3 separate regions of the Homo sapiens genome follow, and all the other regions are linked to region 2. The links are contacts of gene promoters, found by promoter capture Hi-C in human tissues and cell types (Jung and others, 2019). All regions are on one chromosome and are shown on one strand. The core of a region is centred on a gene start or on the middle of the fragment in contact, and the rest is flanking DNA. Distances in the headings are between cores, read along the strand shown. Region 1 overlaps KLHDC4 (kelch domain containing 4). Region 2 holds the start of ZCCHC14 (zinc finger CCHC-type containing 14). Region 3 holds the start of C16orf95 (chromosome 16 open reading frame 95).

Region 1 (4,249 bases), core at 1,465-3,964, 230 kb before region 2:
CAAAACACTCCTGTCCGGGAGAGCAGTGATAGCACACTCTCCACAGCGATGCCGGAAGAGGCCTGCGGTTCTCTTTTGATGTCACGTGGGTGTTCGTGCAGCTGGCATGGCTGCCCAGGGTGAGCTGCGGGCTCTCTCATTGTTTTAGGCCTGTTATCTGCTCACGTTATCTTCTTGAGCTTACTTAGTTCAGTCCAGAAAAGCAAGACACAGGGGAGCTGGTTATCCCTGTTTCTGTCATAAGTGCAGTTGTGTTCTGAGTGAAGTGTCGCAGACTCTGCAACCCTGGTGAAGGTCATCTTTGAAGGCTCTCTGCTGGCATCGTGGTGTCAGAGACAGTGGCTGTCTGTATCTCCGGGGCCTCATTTGAAGCCCTCTTTCTCTACTGGTCCCTCAGGAACCAGCATGGCAATTGATTGATGTGAAGGTGCCACTCACACCTTTGTCACATGGTGAGTCCAGTCGCACCCTCTCGTGATTCTTGATCCATCGTGATAAGTCTGTACAGCCTCCCAGAGTGCTGGGATTACAGGCGTAAGCCACCGCGCCCAGCCGGGTTTCAGATTTTCTTCACTGATATAGTCTCATTAATTTTGTGAATTCGGGGGGAAAAGGGATCCAAATTCTTAAATACTTTTCAAGGGGGAAAGATTTAAAAATGTAATTCAAACTAAAAAGTATTTAAGGCTGGGTACAGTGGCTCACATGTGTAATCTCAGCACTTTGGGAGGCTGAGGTGGGTGGATCACTTGAGGCCAGAAGTTTGAGACCAGCCTGGCCAACATGGCAAAAACTCATCTCTACTAAAAAATACAAAAAATTAGCCAGGTGTGGTGGTGCACACCTTTAATCCCAGGCACTCGGGAGGCTGATACAAGAGAATCGCTTGAACTGGGGAGGCGGATGTTGAAGTGAGCCGCATGCCCAGCTAATTTTTGTATTTTTAGTAGAGACGGGGTTTCACTATGTTCGCCAGGCTGGTCTCGAACTCCTGACCTCATGATCCACATGCCTCGGCCTCCCAAAGTGCTGTGATTATAGGCTTGAGCCCCCGCGCCTAGCCTTATGTTCATTCTTAAAATTTATTTTAAAACAAATAATTGTCAGAATGCACACATAAGTTTGTCAGAGCATTAATTCATTACCTACTATGTGTAGGACAGTGAGATTGTACAGCCCCTTCCTCCTTTGAACTTACAGGTTATAAATCAAATCATGCTTCATGTTTGTTTTAACTTGCAACCATTTTAAAATCAGAACTTTTTTCAAAGCTGTTGTTATCTTGTTTAAAATTATTCAAATACCAACTTGGGAGTTTTCCTTAAACTCTATTCTGCATTTATAGAGAAAATATTCTGTATTTATCTTACGTGCAAAGTAGAATCTTTGTACTAAAAATCTGCGACGTGAAATCTGAAAAAAACAGTGGTCTGTAGCAGTCTTTTAAAGATTACACGCTTCCACATTTCCACATTCCTCAGATTCTATCTATATTAAGAGCCATCGTCCTGCGAAGGATGTGGTCAGTCTGAGTTGCAGTCAGCAAGGTCAGGTTATCTTTTCTTTCTTCTTTTTTTGAGACAGATTCTCACTCGATCGCCCAGGCTGGAGTGCAGTGGCGTGATCAGCTCACTGTAGCCTCCACCTCGTAGGTTCAAACTATTCTCGTGCCTCAGCCTCCTGAGTAGCTGGGATTATAGGCACCCGCCCCCATGCTTGGCTAATTTTTTGTGTTTTTAGTAGAGACAAGGTTTCACCATATTGTCCAGGCTGTTTTTGAACTCCTCGCCTCAAGTGATCTACCTGCCTGAGACTCCCAAAGTGCTGGGATTGCAGGTGTGAGCCACTGTGCCCAGGCTGTTTATCTTAAGACCAGATGTGGCAGCTGGTGCTGGGTAAACGCCCTGTGACTTTTCCTGCTTCACACAAAACAGGAACAAACAGGAGAAAACCGGGCACTTGAGACTTGGGCTAGAGCTGCTTGCTCTTCCATGCTTTCCTTAAAAAATGAGTTTGGCTCTCCTTTTTGAGTAGCTGGAGAGCAGCCCCTTACGCTTTCACGATAATTGTGTCAAAGTTCCACATTAGGACAGGACTTTCTGGGTGCGCCTCCGAGTCTCCCCATGCCTCCAGCAAAGCTGCCACTTCCCTGTTCAGCCCAGTCTGCGTGCTGGGTCCGGCAGGCACTGAGCAGGGCAAGGCTGCGGGGCCTCCTTGCCGCGCTGTGATTTCGGGCACAGAGGGTCGGCTTCTGTGGTCTTCAGTTTCCCTGGAGCGCCCAGTCCCCTCGCTCACCCCTCCAGTCCACTGTGGGGCCTTACCACCCTTGCTGCCAGGCTGCTCACACCTCCGTTCTGATCATCCCTTTGGAGGCGCCATTCACTGCTGCCCTTACGGTTGCACACCTAATAACCTAATGGAATTGTCTCTGATTGTGTTAACTGTGTAAGAAAACGCAGTATGGCTTTCAGATTAAATTCCTCTGCCTCTGTGGGCCAGCATTATTTCCGGTTTTCAAATGCAAACTCATACGTGCTTGTGGTCCTTTCATATCAATTCAAACTTGAATTAAACAGGTGAAAATGTTGCCCTGTCTCCAGGTAGATTGCGTCAAGATTGAGTTTGAGGAGACCTGACTGGCGTCTCTGGCTCGTTGCAGGGAAAGCGGCCACGTTTCTGTGTTGATTGTTGTGTTGGTGTAAGAGCAGAGGAGAAAAATGGTTTGAGTTTTTCCCCAAACAGTAGGAAATTTACCTTTAATTTAAATCAGTTCAGTTTTTAATGTCAGGGCTTTTCCCAATGTTACGGACCCTGACAGCTGCTGTTCTTCTAACCAGGGATTACATCTACTACAACGACGTGTATGCCTTTAATCTGGACACCTTCACATGGAGCAAGCTGTCCCCGTCAGGGACGGGGCCCACACCCAGATCAGGCTGCCAGATGTCCGTCACTCCCCAGGGCGGCATCGTCGTCTATGGGGGCTACTCGAAACAGGTAAGGCGGGGGGTGGGGAAACAGGCAAGGCGTGGGACCGGGAAACAGGCGAGGCGCGGGGTGGGGAGACGGGCGAGGCGCGGGGTGGGGAGACGGGCGAGGCGCGGCGTGGGGAGACGGGCGAGGCGCGGCGTGGGGAGACGGGCGAGGCGCGGCGTGGGGAGACGGGCGAGGCGCGGCGTGGGGAGACGGGCGAGGCGCGGCGTGGGGAGACGGGCGAGGCGCGGCGTGGGGAGACGGGCGAGGCGCGGCGTGGGGAGACGGGCGAGGCGCGGGGTGGGGAGACGGGCGAGGCGCGGCGTGGGGAGACGGGCGAGGCGCGGCGTGGGGAGACGGGCGAGGCGCGGCGTGGGGAGACGGGCGAGGCGCGGCGTGGGGAGACGGGCGAGGCGCGGCGTGGGGAGACGGGCGAGGCGCGGCGTGGGGAGACGGGCGAGGCGCGGCGTGGGGAGACGGGCGAGGCGCGGCGTGGGGAGACGGGCGAGGCGCGGCGTGGGGAGACGGGCCGAGGCGCGGCGTGGGGAGACGGGCGAGGCGCGGCGTGGGGAGACGGGCGAGGCGCGGGGTGGGGAGACGGGTGAGTTGCGGCGTGGGAAAATAGGCGCTGCTGTCTGTGGTCTCTTCAGTTTCATGAACATTGAAGCTTTCACATGGGATTACTCATTGGTTGAATATAAACAGTTCTTTGTATAGAATTAGAAATAGAGATAGTGTTAATCGGCTCCTCTGTGAACTTGGTGCCGTGTTAGGGCCCTGTTCTGTTCTCCACACCCCTGTCAGCAGTGCAGTGTGAGCGATTCTGTGTTCTGAGGGTCTCCTTCCTGCACCATGGACGCTCACTACTGTGTAGTAGTCTCTGTGGAATGAAATTCTCCTCGCTCCTGTTAACGGGCTTGTTTCTTTGGTAACCTGAGAACAGTGCTGACAGGAATGTTCTCGCGCCCACCCCGGAGCCTCCTGCTCTTGGGGCGTGTGCTCTGCACGTGTACTGGCATCTGCTCGTGGAGTGTGTGCTCCTCACATGTGCCTGCTGCTCGTGGGGCGTGTGCTTCACAGAGGCGGCTGGCACAGGCTCTGTCCTCGGAACTCAAGTGTTCCTGTTGCTTCACTCCCATTTCACACTCTGCCAACCTTTACATTTCTGTGAATCTGAGAGGTATGAAGTAGTATCTCACTGTAGGGGTTTAAAAAATCCTTTGTATTTTGAAAATTTTCAACCACAGCTAACTTTTGAAAGAATTTTACGGGGAAC
Region 2 (4,771 bases), core at 1,890-4,389:
CCCAGAGAATGCTGGAGGGCCCGGGAGGTCAGCGTCTGCCCTCTCCTTATGAGGGAGGCCCCCTCCTTCAGGCAGCCTGCCTGCTTCAGAGTGGGGAGTCCAGGTTGTCAGTTCTGTAGGGTCGATGGACCTGGTCTCATTTGCCTCTGAGGCCCCCAAGCCCTTCCTGAGGCCTGGTCCTGTAGGGCAGGGATTTCATATTTGTTGTGAACTGGATTGAGCTGAGCCACACCGATGTCTGGGGGGATATGACATTGTTTCGGTTTCCCTGGCTGCCCTACAAGTAACCACAACACGCGTGAGTGAGGGAGGGGTGGGGAGATGGGGGTAGGGGAGGGGTGGGGGGGGGGTGGGAGATGGGGATGGGGGAGGGGTGGGAGATGGGGGTGGGAGAGGGTCGGGGGGTGGGGGAGGGTGGGGGTTGGGGGTTGAAAACAATAGCAACTTACCCTCTCACAGTTCTGGAGGCCAGGAGTCCAAAGTCAAGGTGTGGGCATGGCTCTGTTCCCTCTGGAGGCTCTAGGGGAGGGTCCTCCCTGTCTCTTGCAGCCTCTGGTAGGCCCAGGCACTCCTTGGCTCCAATCTCTGCCATTCTTGCACATAGTCTCCTTTCCCCCGAAGTCTCTATGTGTTCTTTTCTGTATCTTGTAAGGACAGTCTCATTGCATGTAGGGCTCACCTTAATTCAGTGTGATTTTATCTTGACTCTTACCTTAATTATATCTGCAAAGACTCTTTTCCCAAATAAGGTCACATTCTGAGATTTGGGGTAGAGATAAACTTTGGGGGGACATGATTCAACCTACTAAGCCATTAAATCACAAAGAGCACGCAAGAAGGACCAAAAAGGCAGCGGGAAGTGGGGAGGACCTTGATCCAAGGACTTCCACAGCTCAGGCCTCCCTTGTTCCAGCCAGCAAGGGCTTTCCATGAGCACCTTTGACTTCCACTGCTAGCCAGGATGACGGGTTCCTGGCTGTCTTCTACAGATGAGGAAACTGAGGCTCAGAGGCCTCTGAATGCATAGCCAAGTTCACACAGTCAGCCACAGCTGGGACTGGAGCTCACTTGGTACCAAAGCCTGGGGGTTTCACAGCCAGCTCGGCTGGATTGAAGAAGCCCCACCCCCACCCCCAGCACTAATGAGGTTCCAAGATCTTTCTCCAAGGAGCTTGCTTTATCAATAAGAAATGAATCTTTTGTTTTGTTTTGTTTTTGAGACAGAGTCTTACGCTGTCACCCAGGCTGGAGTGCAGTGGCGGGATCCCCATTCACCGCAACCTCCCTTTCCCGGGCTCGGGCAATCCTTCCACTGCAGTCTCCCAAGTACCTGGGACTACAGGCACATGCCACCACATCTGGCTAATTTTTGTAGTTTTTGTAGAGATGGGATTTCGCCATGTTGCCCAGGCTGGTCTCGAACTCCTGGGCTCAAGGGATCTACCCTCGGCCTCCCAAAGTACTGGGATTACAGATGTGAGCCTCTGAGCCCAGCCAAACTGTCTTGATGTTCACGTTCTTTCACTACCTTAGATTATGAATTTTGGAATGTGGCCAGTTCCCTGGAATCACATTAAGAAGTGAGGTCCAGGACAACGACGATTAATTTAATTATTAATAGAAATCAGCCTAGACCTGGGAAATAAGATGAGGAGACCCAACTGTCCCCAGCCTTGCCCTTGTGCCCATGTGGGAGGCCATCCTGACTCCATTTAGATTTTTGCTTCTTCCTACACTGACAAAGAACACTGGGGCAGCTCCAGGGAAATGTGCCCAAGGTGTGGAGGGGGCTGGGGGAGTGGAGAGCAATTTTTTTTGTTCCCAACCATGCCTTTCTGCAATCTCTGTTCATCCTCGAAGACCTAAGACTGGAGAATGTGGGGTTTGTTTGTTTTGGAGCGACTGGGGCGGGGAGGGGGGGTCTCACCATGTTGCCCAGGTTGGTCTTAAACTCTTGGCCTCAAGCGATCCTCCTGCCTCGGTCTACCCAGTAGCTGGAACCACAGGCGTGCCAGATTCGGCTGAAGAGTTTTGTTAGGAAGTTTTCAGCACCTTGGACCATATCCTGAAAAAGTTCATTCATTGATTTAACCAATCTCTAGTGTGCACTGCCCAGAACCAGAGTGTAAGCTCCACAGGGTAGGGAGGGCGCCAGCTTTGCTCTCAGCTGCCCCCGGGCGCTTGGGACCTGGAACCCATGAATGAACAGACCCCGTTCTAGATCAACAGACATTCAAAGCAGCGCTCTAGGGGAAGGGCAGGGGAGGAATGAGCGTCCAGCCCCCGCGGCTCTACTTCTATGCCTGTGTGTAAGTGGTGGGATTTAAAGGTGGTTGGGTGCACCGGCCCTTCCCCCACCTGCAATCCGGTGCCAATGCAAGTGCCAGGGGAGGGTGGCGTTTCTGTTTACTTCCAGCCAGGTCAGCTCCCTTGCCCCCTCCCCTGTGTTTGCATTTTCTGCGTTTGGCGAGCTGGTGAAGTAGCCGCGGAAAGAAGGCGGATTTAAAGGCTCCATTTGGACGAGGCTTTTGGAGAAAGCTTGCACCTCCCATCACACCCCCAGGGCAAGTCAGCCGCCTCAAAAGTGCCGGTGCCGGCCCTCTGTGAGCTCAACACCTTCGCACAAACCTCGGGGGCGGTTATTATTACCCTCTTTTTCCCGGGGAGGCGCCTGGGGCTCAGAGAGGCCAAGTGACTCGCCCAAGGTCACACAGCTTTGCAGTGGCCGACCCGGGATTGGAACCCGGGGCTCCGGACCCCGCGGCGGCCGTTTCTCGAAGATACCCACTACCTCCCTCTTACACCGCTCAAAAATAAAGCAGGAAGGCCGAACGCCCCGTTTTCGCCGAAAAACAATGCTCCACGCAAATTTGCGGGAACAAAAGCAACCAGAAATCCAGCCCGGGTTTTCCGCCTCTCCGATTCCGCGGACCAATCGCGTCTTGACGGCCGCCGAGGGACGGGAGGCGGTGGCCCCAACATGATCGACAGCCCCCAGGGAGGCGTGGCCGCGGAACGGGCGAATGGGATTGGGGACCCGGCACAATCACGGGCCGAGAACGGGCCGCCTGAGCCAATCAGTGGGGGGGGGACGGGCCCGGCAGGCCCGGGCTGTCGCGAGAGGCGGCCACCCCGCCCACTTCTGCTGATCCCGGCCGCCCGTCAGCCGCGAGCGCGACGATCCCTCCGCTCCTCGGCCGGCGCCTCCTCCGCCGTCGCCGTCGCCGTCGCCGTCGCCGTCGCCGCCGCCGCCGCGCTCGGGCCCGGATCCGTCCGCCGCGCGGGAGCAGCAAGGCCGGCAAGTCCCGGCCGGATCCCTCCGCGCCTCCCGCCGCGCGTCCCTCCCCCTCCAGCGTCCGTTTCGCGGCCGCGGCCCCCAGCGCTCCCCAGGCGGCGACGCCGCGCCCGCGGCCCGGGGTAACGGCCGGCCTGGGCGGAGGCGCGGGCGGCGGCGACGGCATGGCCGGGGCGGCTCCGTCGGGGGGCGGCCCGCAGTGACAGACCCTGCGGCGCGGGGGGAGATGGGGGCGGCCGCCTCCCGGGCGACGACGACGACGACGACGAGGAGCAGCCGCCGCCGCCGCCGCGCACCGGCCGCCGCTGGGCACGGGCGCGGGGAAGGCGCCTCCCCGTGAGCGGGGGGCCCGAGGCCGCTCGCCGCCCCCGGCCGCCCCGGCCGCCCCGGGCCCCCCCGGCGCCCCGCGCGCGCCCGCCCGCCGGCCCCTGACGGGAGCCTTGCCCGGCCCCGGTCCCCGCCCCCGCCCCGGCGCCCGCCCGGCCCGCGGCGCCCGCGCGCCCTCGCCCGGACCCGGCCCCGGCCCGCGCGTCCCCGGTCCCGGCGCGCCCCGGCCGCGGCCCCCGGCGCCCCCCGGCCGCCCCCGCGCGGTCCCCGGCCCCGGGTCGCGGCGCGGCGCGGGCGGCAGCATGGTGGAGAAGCGCTGCCCGCTGCAGAGGGACGGCGTGTACCGCTGGTTCTCGGAGCTGCCGTCGCCGCAGCGCGTGGAGTTCCTGTGCGGCCTGCTGGACCTGTGCATCCCGCTCGAGCTTCGCTTCCTCGGCTCGTGCCTGGAGGACCTGGCCCGCAAGGACTACCACTCGCTGCGCGACTCGGAGATCAAGGCCAACAACCCGGCCGACCTGGGCAGCCTCACCAACCTGACGGACGAGGTGGTGCGCAGCAAGCTGCTGGTGTCGCTGGCGCTGCTGGGCTCGGAGCAGCGCGAGGCGGCGGGCGTGCTCTACCGCACGCTCACGCACATCGACTCCATCATCCACAACTACGGGCTGCAGCTTAACGAGGGCCGCACGGGCGATGAGTTCCTGCTGCTGTTCACCATGGCCTCCAACCACCCGGCCTTCAGCTTCCACCAGAAGCAGGTGCTGCGCCAGGAGCTCACGCAGATCCAGAGCAGCCTGAACGGCGGCGGGGGCCACGGCGGCAAGGGCGCGCCCGGGCCGGGCGGCGCGCTGCCCACTTGCCCAGCCTGCCACAAGGTGCGTGCCCGCCCCGAGCTCTGCCCTGTACCCCAAGTCTGCATCCCCAACTCTGCACTCCAAGCCTCCAGCCTGCACCGCGACCCCCCGACCCACGCCTCCAGCCTGCACTGAGAGCTCCCACCCAGGTCTCCAACCTGCACCACGAGCCCCCAGCCCGTATCCCAAGCCCCATCCTAAGCCTCTATGTCGCACCCCAAATGTGTGCCCCACCTCTCCAAGCCTCCACCGTACATCCCAAGCCTCCGCCGTACATCCCAAGCCTCCGCCGTACATC
Region 3 (4,729 bases), core at 2,111-4,610, 180 kb after region 2:
ACATTTTCCAGAGCGGATGAAGGAGTCCCCCTGTGCCACATCCTCGCCATCCCTTACGGTGTACTCAGTGTTCTTTTTTTGAGACGGGGTCTCGCTCTGTTGCCCAGGCTGGAATGCAGTGGCCTGATCTCAGCCCACTGCAACCTCTGCCTCCCGGGTTCAAGTGATTCTCCTGCCTCAGCCTCCCCAGTAGCTGGGACTACAGGCATGCACCACCATGCCCGGCTAATTTTTTGTATTTTCAGTAGAGACGGGGTTTCACCGTGTTAGTCAGGATGGCCTCGAACAACAGGAGGCGGAACTACAGGCATGACCAAGAAGGTCAGGACACAGGCGGCTGGAGCCATCCTGCGGGGGATGCCAGGAGCCAGTGCAGAACATGTCCTGAAGTTGTCCTGACTGCAGAGTGGAGTGGCTGGAACATTCACCCCACCCTGTCACTGCTGATGGCTGTCCCCACACATGGGTCAAGCAACTCTCGCAGTTGGAAGGAGCCATTAGCAGGTGAAAGTGAGGCTGTTTGCCTCAGTGGCCCACTGCTTCTCTGCCCTGTCTAGCCAGGTTGATGGTCCCCTCTGGTCTGGTGGTAGCTTCTGCTGCTCAGGTGTCAGGCCTCTCTGCAGGGCCACCACTAGCCCAGGGTGCTCCTGTGTAAGTTCACATATGGCGCTGCTTTGGAGCAGGCTAAGGCCCAGGCTGGGGTGCATGACTTGGTTAGCTGAGCACAGGATAAATGCAAGCCTCACTTGTGTTCTTGGCAAGGGACCCTTGATTAGTGAAGAAACCACACAACTGTGCCCAGGAACCCTGCTTCTGTCTGGGTATAGGCTGCCTGGGGAGGTGTGATCTGGGAGGAACCTGCAACTCTCTCCCTGGGATCAAGGAGGTTCTGTGGGTTTGGCTTGGGTACCCATTACCTTGGGTTCACAAAGATCTCATTCTGCTCCTCTTTCCCTCTACTTGGGGGCTTTGGAAACAAAAGCCTAAAACAGGCAGTGGTAGTGGCCAAACTTCCAGCCTGAAGCACACTCACGTCACAAACTGACGTGTGCTGGACTCTGTCTGGCTTTTTTTTTTTTTTTCCTTGAGACAGGGTCTGGCCCTGTCACCCGGGCTGGATGGAATCATGGCTCATTACATCCTCAACCCCCTGGGCTTAAGTGATCCTCCCACCTCAAACTCCCAAGTAGCTGGGACCACAGGCATGTGCCACCATGCCTAATTTTTAAATTTTTTGCAGAGATGAGGTCTCACTACGTTGCCAAGGCTGGTCTCAAACTCCTGGGCTCAAGAGATCTTCCCACCTTGGCCTCCCAAAGTGCTGGGATTACAGATGTGAGCTACCATGACAGTCCCTGGTTTTTGAGCACCTTTCATGCTCTTTCATATTTGATCTTCTGAAACTTCCTTGGGATTGGTTCTATGGTTATCATTATTTTAGACATAAAACTGAAGCTCAGAAAAGTTAGGCAACTTGTCTGATACCTGTCTCTGATAAGAGGCAGAGCAAGGATTGGGATCTAGGCCTTGTTACTCAGAGCACAGGGGCAGGGTGGCTGGAGTTTCCTTCACATCCCCAGCCTGTGTCATGATGGATTTGCTTTCCTGGTTTTGAACATCACACACATGGAATTGTCTGTACATTCTGGGGTCTGACTTCATTGTACACTTCATCCACATTGTTGTGGGTTGTGGTTGTGTGCCCATTTCCATTGTTGTACAGAATTTCCTCTCTGTGAACATGCCATACTTTCTTTTTAAAATCTTTTTTTCCTATGGATGGACATCTGGATCATTTCCAGTTTGGGGCCATCAGGAAGAAAGCTGCTGTGGGTAGTTTTGTTCATGTCTTCTGGTACACATAAGCTCTCATTTCTCTTGGGTGAGTTGAGGAATTAGTTGGTCATCAGGTATTCATATGTTTAGGTTTTGTAAATACTACCAGTTTGCCAATGTGGTTTTATCAATTTCATGAGCCATGTATGAGGGTTCCAGCTGTGACATCCTCGACAAACTAGGTATTGTCAGTCCTTTTAATTTTAGCCATTCTTGGGTGGGTGAGGGCAGTGAAGAGCTATTCTTGACATGGAATGACAAGACCTAGTGTGCCCGAGGTGAAGGCCTGAGCGTCCAGGGGAGCATGAGCCTGTCTTCTATGCCCTGCTGTGCTATGGCAGTGTTTCAGTGTGCTCTGGAGGAAAACAGCAGAGAAGCCGAGTGCTCCAAAGTGGGCAGAAATGAGACAGGCATAATGTGCTAGGCTAATGGTGACTCTTGGAATTTTGTCATTAGCTACAAAGAGGGCAGTGACATGATTTACACACACACACGGGGTGGGGTATCTGAAATATTAGGCAGCTAGTATGGCAGGGGCACCGTCTAATCAGCATGGATGCTGGCCAGGAGAGGACATGTGTATGTGCTGGCTGGAAACAGTCCTGCTCATAGGTCACGATCTTAATGATTAAATAACAAGGCAAGAAATCCGAGAGGGCAGTGCCTGGGAGCACCCTGTTTGCTCTGTGGCCAGAACGCAGCACACTGAAGTATTGCCCATCAGGGTAAGAGGTGCTCGTGATGGTTTGGGCAAATACAAATATTAATCCAGAGTATTTGAGTCTACATGAAAATACTGAAAAGTGAGGGAAGACCCAACCGTTTCCAAGAAATACAAATTGGAACTGGCGATAACTTAAAGAACATAATCAGAGAGGCAGAGGGCATTGGGTTTTACTAAAATATGAAGACATACGTCCTGTCTCCACGTCAGCAACTGCCCAAAGTACACGCGTTCCAGCGAAAAGAGCGGGTGGGGTGGGGAGGCTCAGGGCCAGCCAGAGCTTCGGTGCTTGCACGCCCAGGCCTCCGGGTGACGACTGCTTCCAATTCCGCGCCCTTTAAACCCCATGTTGTTAAAAAAAAAAAAAAAGAAAGAAAACCTATTTCTCTAAAAGTCACGATTCGAGCCCCACCTGAGGACGCAGCGATCCAGCGCCAACTCATTATCTGAGATAAAGGAGTGATTTTACCAGAAGCGCCTATGCAAGACGCAGGGCCCCGCGCGGGCTGCTCCCACCTCTTTCTCTCCTTGCAGGCTACCGAGACCCTGGCTGGGGCGGCCGGCGGCCCCTCCGGCCCATCCGTCGGAAATGATGAGTGGCTCCAGTGGCCGGGGTCCGCAGGACCTACCCCAGCGGGCATGGCGGGAGCCCCGCAGCCCCACACAGCCGCGCTCTGAGCCGCTGACCCCGCGTCTCTCGTGAGGGACCAATCAGCTGCCAGCTAAGGTCACATACCTAGAAGGCCAATTTTGATTGGCTGGGCGCGGGCTAGTCAGCGGGACGGGCGGGCGCGCGGGCGTTGTTGGGCTCCTCTGAGCGGTTGAGGTTGGGGCTGGGGTTGAGCTCGGGTTGGGTTCCTCCTGGGGCAGGAGGGAAAGGCGGGAGCCAGGGCGTCAGGGCCTGCGGACGATGTGTGTGTGAAAGGGCGCGTCAGCCATAAGAAGCCATATGCGTGCGAGCCGGTCCCCACCGTCCCCGCGGCGTTGTCACCATCATCATGAGGCCACTGGAGCAGCCTCAGGCGCTGCTGCCGGGGGGCCGGGCGCGGGGTGCGTCGGGCTCTGCAGGTTGGCACTCACACCCAGCGCGCAGGATGGCAGGCAAGTGAGTCCTGAATCCTGCCCGCGGCTACCCGACACCTCGCCTGTGAGTTCCCGGCCCGGCATTGCTCCATGACCTATGCACAGGCAGAACTCTTGACCGCCACCCACAGGAACCTCACTTACATTGGCTTAACAAAAACGCAACTGATGGTTCCACATAACTGAAAATGTCAGAAGTAGGCCTTCAGGCATGGATGTATCCAGGTACACATTGACCATGGTCCTGGAAGGTTTCTCTCCATCTCTCAGCTTCCTTCCTTTTTGCTGGCTTCCCTTGTGGAGGCAAGATGATCACCAGGACCTCCTGAGGTTTACATGTTATCAGATTATCAACCTCAACAAAAAGGAGATTCTTTTTTTTCCCAGCTTTCCAGGCTGGGCAGTGGTGAGTTTGGCCCACCTGAACTACAAGGACTGAGATGGCTGTGGCCCCCCCCCTCCCCACCAGGAATATAGCAGTGCTGTCATTACCAGAAGGGGCCTCGGATGCTGTGGAGGGCAGTGCCCCATCCTCTGTTTTCAAGCATTATCTGGGAGAGTTGATGCGTGAACCTATTACTCTCACAAAAATAGCAATAATAATAATGGTTATTATGACAATGAAACCCAAAAACACTTATATCGCTCTTACGGTTTCCACATACAAAGCACTTTGACCCACTACTGTCAGGGAAGCAGGGCTTTGCACCCACTGGAGACGCTTCATCCAGCCAACATTCAAGCAGTTTGTTGGGGAGTGGAACAGGGAAGAGCCACACAGGCTGTGTAACCCCAAGTGCTTTGTCATCCCAGAGACAAAGCACCCGGGTTTTTATAGTGGAAGGAGGTTCATTAATGGACAGTTTGACGATGTTTTTTCTTCAGTATTTCAGTAAGTTGAGGGTGTCTGACAGATCATCCTAGGTGATGTGATTGGCAGCTACATGTCTTGGAAAGTTCTCAGCAGGTTGGAATGCTCCTGTCTTTTCTGATGCTCCAAGCACAAGTGTAGCTGGAGTCAGCTTGAAGCTGGTTGGCTTGGGAATGCAGGATTCCATGACAGCCAGCCCCCAGGAGCCCCTAGAC

Evidence for each region. Contacts are between HindIII fragments. The study calls those that stand out against the background at their distance.
Region 1: a contact is called between a fragment that was not itself captured here and the fragment with the promoter of ZCCHC14 in region 2, in 1 of the 25 tissues and cell types used here (dorsolateral prefrontal cortex).
Region 3: the fragment with the promoter of C16orf95 here is called in contact with the fragment with the promoter of ZCCHC14 in region 2 in 1 of the 25 tissues and cell types used here (dorsolateral prefrontal cortex).

The regions. Positions count from the first base shown.
Region 1 is chr16:87,725,513-87,729,761 of GRCh38, reverse strand. It overlaps KLHDC4 (kelch domain containing 4), which reads left to right. Exons shown (of 12, transcript NM_017566.4): 7 at 2,838-2,997. Among named protein-coding and RNA genes, the nearest start is that of KLHDC4, 38 kb to the left of the region's middle. RefSeq lists an enhancer at 4,068-4,249. The HindIII fragment of the contact is 6,423 bases long and covers 1-4,249 here.
Region 2 is chr16:87,491,392-87,496,162 of GRCh38, reverse strand. It overlaps ZCCHC14 (zinc finger CCHC-type containing 14), which reads left to right and starts at 3,139. Exons shown (of 13, transcript NM_015144.3): 1 at 3,139-4,494. The coding sequence starts at 3,925. ZCCHC14-DT (ZCCHC14 divergent transcript) reads right to left here and starts at 1,976. Exons shown (of 4, transcript NR_110943.1): 1 at 1,928-1,976. RefSeq lists a silencer at 3,021-3,200. The HindIII fragment of the contact is 17,996 bases long and covers 1-4,771 here.
Region 3 is chr16:87,316,023-87,320,751 of GRCh38, reverse strand. It overlaps C16orf95 (chromosome 16 open reading frame 95), which reads left to right and starts at 3,360. Exons shown (of 7, transcript NM_001195124.3): 1 at 3,360-3,661. The coding sequence starts at 3,510. C16orf95-DT (C16orf95 divergent transcript) reads right to left here and starts at 3,243. Exons shown (of 2, transcript NR_135180.1): 1 at 3,030-3,243; 2 at 2,709-2,895. RefSeq lists an enhancer at 3,333-3,782. The HindIII fragment of the contact is 14,678 bases long and covers 1-4,729 here.